Linked DNA regions of Homo sapiens: region 2 is linked to region 1. The links are contacts of gene promoters, found by promoter capture Hi-C in blood cells and fetal thymus (Javierre and others, 2016). All regions are on one chromosome and are shown on one strand. The core of a region is centred on a gene start or on the middle of the fragment in contact, and the rest is flanking DNA. Distances in the headings are between cores, read along the strand shown.

The links. The method cuts DNA at HindIII sites, captures the fragments that hold promoters and counts their contacts. A CHiCAGO score of 5 or more calls a contact.
Region 2: a contact is called between a fragment that was not itself captured here and the fragment with the promoter of GOT1L1 in region 1, in 1 of 17 cell types (M0 macrophages). The highest score is 5.2, in M0 macrophages.

The regions. Positions count from the first base shown.
Region 1 is chr8:37,937,069-37,941,783 of GRCh38, reverse strand. GOT1L1 (glutamic-oxaloacetic transaminase 1 like 1) reads left to right here and starts at 1,660. Exons shown (of 9, transcript NM_152413.3): 1 at 1,660-1,869; 2 at 2,903-3,084; 3 at 4,035-4,146; 4 at 4,398-4,507. The coding sequence starts at 1,755. RefSeq lists an enhancer at 1,638-2,154. The HindIII fragment of the contact is 5,963 bases long and covers 1-1,969 here.
Region 2 is chr8:36,853,726-36,857,990 of GRCh38, reverse strand. All of the region lies in intron 18 of KCNU1 (potassium calcium-activated channel subfamily U member 1), which reads right to left. Among named protein-coding and RNA genes, the nearest start is that of KCNU1, 71 kb to the right of the region's middle. The HindIII fragment of the contact is 412 bases long and covers 1,483-1,894 here.

The DNA of each region.
Region 1 (4,715 bases), core at 411-2,910:
ACCCTTTGTATGCCTAAATCAGGCAGTCATTGGCTACCCCTGTCAGTGGGGGTGAAACCTCCAGGTGGTTTCTAGGCTAGCTGACTCCTGCCAGCCAAGCACAATTCTCCAGAGAACACAGGCATATAAGCCTTGTCCACCAGCGAAGCAGCAGCTGGGGCCGGGCACATTGGTGGTGAAGGCCTTCTGGGTGAGACATCAACAGTGTTTGCAACAATCATTTAAAGAGTTATTTAACATCAGGCTGGGTGTGGTGGCTCATGCCTGTAATCCTAACACTTTGGGAGGCTGAGGTAGGCAGATCACTTGAGGTCAGGAGTTTGAGACCAGTCTGGCCAACGTGGTGAAACCCTGTCTCTACTAAAAATACAAAAAAAAGCCGGGCGCAGTGACTCACGCCTGTAATCCCAGCACTTTGGGAGGCCCAGGTGGGCAGATCACCTGAGGTCTGGAGTTTGAGACCAGCCTGATCAACATGGAGAAATCCCCCTCTCTACTAAAAATACAAAATTAGTTGGGTGTGGTGGCGCATGCCTGTAATCCCAGCTACTCGGGAGGCTGAGGCAGGAGAATCTCTTGAACCTGGGAAGCAGAGGTTGCAGTGAGCCGAGATCACACCACTGCACTCCAATGTGGGCAGCAAGAGCGAGACTCTGTCTCAAAAAAAAAAAAAAAAAAAAAGAGAGAGTCATTAAACATCAAAAGGAAAAGAAAGCAAGCAATATGCAGACTGACTCTATAGAGGCTGGCTCTTTTCTCCCCTTGGCCTCTGCTGTCTATACTTACTAGTTGGCTGTCATTGAAACTTAACAAATGGCCAGGTGTGGTGGCTCATGCCTGTAATCCCAGCAGTTTGGGAGGCCAAGGCAGGCAGATCACCTGAGGCAAGGAGTTCGAGACTATCGACAAAGTGAGACTCCATCTCAAAAAAAAAAAAAACCAAAAAAAGAAAGAAAAAGAAACTTAACAAACATATGTAGAAGTCTTGGCTCTAGATAACTGAGAGAAATAGGACTGGCTTAGTGAGTTGCCAATTATATTCTAATAATAGGATTCTTTATTAAAACAACTGTGGAAGAAAACAGTGTTTGCTTTTTATTCCTTTTGAAATCTGGGGCACTTTGCAAAATGGAAATCAATGCCTCGACTTGCATTGGTGTGTGATCTGGGGTTTTTGCTTCTGCAGGAGAAGCCCTATCTGGCTTATTGGCTGCCTGCCTTGCCCTATGTCTTTCTTTCTTTTTTTTTTTTTTAATTTGTATAAATGTGTGAAGTACAAGTGTAATTTTGTTAGATGCATACATCGCATAGTGGTGAAGTCAGGGCTTTTAGGGTATCCATAACCCCAACAATGTACATTGTATCTGTTAAGTAATCTCCCATTATCCTTGCCCTGTCATCTAAGGAGTGGGCTTGTTACTTTGGACTGAGCCACCTGGGGCTAGAGAAGAGAAGGCATTGAGTGAGGGAAACGGGCTTGGGAATTCCGGAGATTGTTATCCTGCCCTGCCCGCTGTCTGAGGGGATTCTCCTCAAGTACCCTGGAATGTTCCTGTGGCCCCTGTGGATCGCCACCACAAAGATCATGAGGTTCTGTTGCCCTGGCAACCCGTTGTCCAGCGCCTCTGCACTGGGGCTGCCAAGGTTCCAGGAAGAGGCAGGACTGCCCGGCCCAGCCTTGGAGGAAGACTTCTGGGCAGAAGCGGAACACAGGAGCAGAGACACATAGTCTTGGCTCCAGTTTCGTTTCAGTTATGCCCACCCTTTCAGTGTTCATGGATGTGCCCCTCGCCCACAAGCTAGAGGGCAGCTTGTTAAAGACCTACAAACAAGATGATTACCCGAACAAGATATTCTTAGCCTATAGAGGTAGATGCCTAGCAGTTCTGAAGTATAAGACTTAAGTGATGGTAACTGCCTCTAGGAGGACAGTGTTCCCTGCTGCAGGGGGAGGGGTGCAGCCCAAGCTTCTGTGGGTGGAGAGATCTTTTCTTGTTAACAGAATTACCCAGTGGGGAAAAGTGCAGATAAGGTCCCAGGTCATTCCATGCTCTCTGCCCTTCTCTGGGGGCTTCTAGGGATTTGGTGAGAGCTATGTCCTCTTCCACAACTCTATGCTTGGGGGCCTGCATGGCCATCCCACACTTCTTCAGATTCTTACCTCCTCTCTCTCTCTTTCTCTTTCTCTTCCTGTTCTTGAACCAAGAATGGTTCTCCAGATTGAGCTTTCTGCTATGCAACTGGGGCTCACCACTGTGAAAGTCAGGGTTACCTTTATTTAGCTTCATCTACCTATAACTCTCATTTTGCATATATATATATATATATATATATATATATATATATATATATTTTTTTTTTTTTTTTCTTGAGACAGGGCCTCACTCTGTTGCCCAGGCTGAAGTGCAGTGGCAAGATCTCAGCTCACTGCCACCTTTGCCTCCTGGGCTCAAACCATCCTCTTGCCTCAGCCTCCTGAGTAGCTGGGACTACAGGCGCTGGTCACCATGTCTGGCTGTTTTGTATTTTTTTGTAGAGACAGGGTTTCATCATGTTGCCCAGGCTGATCTTGAACTCCTGAACTCAAGTGATCCACCCACCTTAGCCTCCCGAAGTGCTGGGATTACAGGCCTGAGCCACCAATCCTGGGCTTGTATAATTTTTAACCTTTAAAATGGCATAGGTTTCAGTTGTCTTTTTTAAAAAGACAAAAATAATACACATTCACTAACAGCATATTCTTTTCATCAAGGAGAAAAGAAAAGGGAAAGTTGTATTTTCACAGGCACCTTCCCACAGCCCCATGGAGTCCAGGAGAGATTTGTTTGCAGGCTGTCTGCAGAGCTCAGCCCTGGGGGCCCAAACCAGGCATCTGGAGCTCCCTCTGTGGTTTTCCTCACAGTCTGCATGACAAATGAAGGCCATCCCTGGGTTTCTCTCGTGGTGCAGAAGACTCGACTACAGATTTCACAGGATCCCTCCCTGAATTATGAGTACTTGCCCACCATGGGCCTGAAATCATTCATCCAGGCCTCTCTAGCACTCCTCTTTGGAAAGCACAGCCAAGCCATTGTGGAGAACAGGGTGAGAAGGTGGGCCCTCCCCTGGCTCATTTAGACACAGAGAGTGGCGATCTGGGTCTGCACAACCTTAAACCCGAAGGGGACCTCGGAGGGCCCCCTGGTATTGATAAAAGAGATACCTGAGGCTCAGAGAGTCCACAAGTCCTTAGCCATCGAGTCAGGATCGGAATCTCAGTCCAGTGGTATTCCCACCTGCTCACACTGCTGATTTGAAAGCTCTTTCAAGACAGGAATGATCTGAATTGGAGGTGGTGTTAGTATTCCCATTACTGTTTTATTTTTTAACCTATTATATATATTTTTTGAGACAGAGTCTCACTCTGTCACCCAGGCTAGAGTGCAGTGGTGCCATCTCAGCTCACTGCAACCTCCACCTCCCAGGTTCAAGCAATTCTGGTGCTGCATCCTCCTGAGTAGCTGGAATCACAGGCATGTGCCATCACGCCCAGCTAATTTTTGTATTTTTTGTAGAGACAGGGTTTCACCATGTTGGCCAGGCTGGTCTCAAACTCCTGGCCTCAGGGGATTCCCTGCCTCGTCCTCCCAAAGTGCTGGGATTACAGGCATGAGCTACTGCGTCTCGCCTCCATTACTGTTTTAGAGTGTTATTTCTGTCTATTTCTTTTTATTTTTTAATGTTTATTTACTTATTATTTTTTTGAGACGGAGTCTCACTCTGTCACCCAGACTGGAGTGCAGTGGCCTGATCTCCGCTCACTGCAACTTCCGCCTTCCGGGTTCAAGTGATTCTCCTGCCTCAGCCTCTTGAGTAGCGGGGATTACACATGCCCAACACCACATCCGGCTAATTTTTGTATTTTTAGTAGATACGGGGTTTCAACATGTTGGCCATGACCTCGAGTGATCCACCCACCCCAGCCTCCCAAAGTGCTGGAATTACAGGTGTGAGCCACCACACCTGGCCTATTTGTGTCTATGTCTTGCTGGCAGGTAGGGGGTGTACACACTGTTGGTGACAGTGGTGCCTTCCAGCTTGGCGTCCAGTTTCTCAGAGCTTGGCATAAGGATGCTCGTATAGTTTACATCATCTCTTCTCAAAAAGGTTAGTCTTACCCAAGATGAGGGGAACAGCAATCCCCGTCCCTTGTTCCTAATCCTCACCCCATTTGCCATCTTCACTGTTATCCCTCATTCTCTGTCATGAGCAAAATGGCAGACAAGCCAAGCTATTTATGTCCTTTTCCTGTTAATGTCCCACCTTCAGCCAGTGACTCTCAGCCCCACACTCCAGTACCTCTGTCTCCGTCTCTCTGTTTCCCATGTACCAGCTAGTGGGGGGCTGTGTTCCCACAGAACTGCATGGACTCGTCTTCCAGGACATGGGCTTTACAGTTTATGAATACTCTGTCTGGGACCCCAAGAAGCTATGCATGGACCCCGACATACTCCTCAATGTGGTGGAGGTAGAGGGGCCCCGCTCAGAAACTCCTCCCTAGAGCTGACTTACAGCCTAATGTTCCTCTCCTCCCCACACCTCTTAAGTCATCCAAGACCTTTTCCAGGTTTGAATTTGCCTGGCCCTTCAATGGTAACTAACATGGAGGAGCACTTCACCCCCAAATGCCCTGGGGCCGCCACTCCTGGGTGGGGGTGAAGCCTGATGAGACCGTC
Region 2 (4,265 bases), core at 439-2,938, 1.1 Mb after region 1:
TCTAGAAATTGTTCTGTGAACATATAGCAAATGAAGAAAACTTGTGGCTGGGTGCAGTGGCTCACGCCTGTAATCCCAGCACTTTGGGAGGCTGAGGCGGGTAGCTCACCTGAGGTCAGGAGTTCAAGAGCAGCCTGGCCAACCTGGTGAAACCCCATCCGTACTAAAAATACAAAAATTAGCTGCATGTGGTGGCAAGCGCCTGTAATCCCAGCTACTCAAGAGGCTGAGGCAGGAGAATCACTTTAACCCGGGAGGTGGAGCTTGCAATGAGCCAAGATCAAGCCATTCCACTCCAGCCTGTGGAACAGAGCAAGACTCCTTCTCAACAACAACAACAAAAACAAAAACAAAAAAACAAAAAACAAACAACAAACAAACAAAAAACAAAACAAAACAAAGAAAACTTGTATTCAATAAAATATACTAAATCTTAGTAAGGGCAGAAAGAATCTTTGGCACTTGAACCACAGACTGCTTCCTTTCCTCCAAACCCAGTTGGGTGTGATAAAAGCTTCATTCTGGACAGGTGTGCTCAAGAATGCAGGGCTCCCCCTCCCTCCAGCTCCCAGTCAAATGCTGTGCTATGTCCCTGTGAGGGACACAGCCTCAGTATTTCTCATCCCCTTCCCACTCTGTGTTGCAGAAACTAAGTTTCAGGTGAGTGTAGCCTAGAGGATAGAGACTGTCTTACTCTTCACAGCTCTCATTTATAGGTGAGGCTCTGTTTAGGTATCACAGGATGAAAACAATGAAGCATTAATCTCCCTGACTCCAGCTCACCCCCAAGGCAGAGGTTTCACAGTGGGAGAAGCAAACAAAGAAAGCCAGAGGCTACCACCAGTGCTAGTGTCCTACTCATAAAACAGGTGTGTCACTTCAACAGAGGAGGTCTTCTTTTCCAACACCACCCACCATCCTGCAAGCTCGGGAGCAATGGCTCAGAGATTTTGCCCAGGAGGAGAGGCAGGCCATAAGAACAAAGAGCTCTGAAGCTCCGCCCAAAGGAATTGATTTTACTTGGAACAGAGTATCAAGAATTTCAAGCCCAAGGGTGCTTTTTGACAACAGTGATTTTGGTGGTAAACAATTAATTAGAGGCTAGTAACTCCATGAGAACAAGATAAACCATAAGTCAGAATTTACCATAGTGAACCAGAAAAAGTACAGTTAATAACCGTTCTCTTAGGGACAGAACAAACTGCAAAGACTGGTCTTAGAAACCACTCTTACAAAGGGGCCCAAATTTAATTGCGTAATACTGTGGAGCAATAGATAACTCAGGCATAATAAAAAACAATAATAGGCAGCCTGCTAGTGTAGTCTAGGAACTGGGTGTGATACTAACAGAAGCGGAGAGCTTACCATAGAGATCAGGGAAAGAGACCATTAAAATGAGCCCTGCTAAAACCACTATAAGCCCAATGGTTGTTAACCACTGTAGTCCAAGGCTGCACTCTCCAATGAGCAACATCAAAAGCTTCAAACTTAGGGGAAATTTATTTTATAAAACAGTTCAGCCAAGTCACTAGCCAACTAACTAAACAACCAGTGACAACAACAAGCCTTGGTTTTCAGAGCTGCTATAATTATCTACAATATCCATTTTCAACACAAAATATGAGACATGCAAAGTAACAGGAAAGCATGAGACATGAAAATTAACAGGAAAGCATGAGCTATACACAGGGTGGGGAAAGCAGGCAAAAGAAACTTTCTGTGCAAGAGTCCATGTCAGAGTTAGCAGAAAAAATATTAAGAGCCAATATTCTAAATATGTTGAAAGAAATGAAGGAAATCCTGATTAAAGAAATAAAAGCATGATGACAATATCTCCCTAAAGAAACATTATCCATAAACAAATACAAATTTTAAGAAGAACAAAATAGAAGCTTTATAGTTGAAAAGTACATTAACTGATGTTAATTATTCACTAGAGGGGTTAATAAATTGGAGACTGTCTCCCCAAATATTAATATGTGTCTACCCAGAACCTCAAAATGTGACTGTTGTGGACTAAATTGTGCCCTACATCACAAAAAATCTTGAAACCAGCACGAGAAAAATGTGGTTTACATGTGAAACAGCTGACTTCTTATCAGAAAAAATGGAGGTTAGAAGGCAATAAGATGTCATTGAAAAGTGCTGAAATAAACTGCCAACCAAGAATTTTATACCCAGGAAAACTATCTTTAAAAAATGAAGACAAGATACCAGAAAAAAAATAAAATAAAAGGTAGAGGAAGGACACGAGATAGGCCGCCCCTCCATAAAAATAGAATAAACTGGCAAAACTTGTGAGAATTATTTTTTTTTCAGAACTCTGGAAACTAACCAACAGGAGCCTTGAAAACATTTAGTCGAGAGAAATAAATAGATAGCAGTAAGAGATATAAGATTTGTGTTATTTTAATTTACACTAGTTTCATCTCCAGCTCCACAGCTCATCGATAGCTTTCAAAACATAATACTCCATATTCTTGGCACTAGAGGGAGTACAGCAGAAATACAGTTCTTCAAAAGCCTTATTTCCAAAGAAGAGTCATTATTTTGACTTGTCTGGTGGTTCCCTGCATAACCCTACTTGAATGGCTTTTCTTTTTCAGCCTCATTTGCATGTATCTAGTGCTACAAGCCTATCCCCAGGGAGTGTTATCAAATATATTAACGTCACATGTGCCTGAGGCAACAGATAGCAGGGCAAATTGAAGACCAAATGAAAGCATAAAAGGAAAACTGAAGAATAAAATGTCTTCTTACTTATAAGGGACTTTGAAAAACTCTGGAATATTACTGGAAATCTAAATGACAATGAAGATGCCCAGAACTGTGTAAAGCTGTATGCATAAGCAGAAAGGCCTGAGAAGTTCCAAAGCTCTCATCTCTAACTGACCTTGAGGTTTCATACAAGCAGAAAATGAAGGCTAAACACAGTTGTCAACTTTACAGCTGACTATTGAAGGCATGCCCCAACACAAACACAGAATCCTTTGACAAAGACTGAGAAACTTCTTGGTTCCAGGTGTTTAACAAAAATCATTGTCCAATTATAAGCTTACCACTAAGTTGAGTAGAAAATTCAATGGCCACAAATGACAGAGAGATAGACTTTGGGAAAGTCTACTGGAGAATCTGATTTCCATAAATAACACACTATAACCTGTGTAATGTCTAATTTTCAACAAAAAGTTATAAGACTTGGAAAGAAACAAGCAAGATAAAAATACATAGGAAAAAGGCTCTCAATAGACACCATCCTTGAGAGAAGCTCAGATATTGTACTTACTAGTCAAAGACTTTTAAAATCAGCTAATTTAAATATATTTGAAGAGCTTTAAAAACCTATATATAAATAACCAAAAGGAATATGAGAATGATGTCTCACAAAATAGAGAATGTCATTAAATAGTTACAAATTTTTTTAAGTAGAAATCTTGGAGTTCAAAGTACAAGAACTAAAATAAAAACTTTACAAGAGGAACTAAAGATCAGACTTGAGCATGCAAAAAAAAAAAAAAGAATCAGCATACTCAAAGATAGGTGAATGAAGATTATACAGTTTGAGGGACAGAAGAAAAAAGGAATTAAGAAAAATGAAGACAGCCTAAGGGACCGCTGGGACATTATCAAGTGTACCAAAGGATTTAATGAAAGATCCAGGAGAAGAGTAAAGAAAGGAGTAGAGTGAATATTTGAGAAATAATGGCCAATAACTTCTCAAAGTGGTTGAAAAACATTAATCTACACAACTAAAAAGCTTAATAAACTCCTAGTAGGATAAATTTAAAGAGATTGACACATGGAGACCTGTCATAATCAAAAATGTAAGACTCAAAGACAGAGGGTCTTCAAGTCAGCAAGACAGAAGTGACTCATCGTGTAGAAAGGATGACCAATCAAATTGAAAGCTATTTCTAATCTGAAACAATAGAGGCCAGAAAGAAGTAGGATGAAATATTTAAAGCGCTGAATGAGAAACAACTGCCAACAAAGAATTTAATAGTTAGCAAAACTATCCTCCAAAAATAAATGATAAATTAAGACATTTTTAAGATTAACAAGAACTTAGATCTTGTTCACATATGACAAACCCTACAATAAATACTAACGGGATTCCTTGAGTTTGAAATACAAGCACATTAGGCAGTAATTCAAATCCACAGGAAGAAATAAAAATCACACACACACACACCAACCTATACTTAACCGACCCTATAAACCAACTATACTTAACAGACATCCATATAACATTCCATCTAACAACA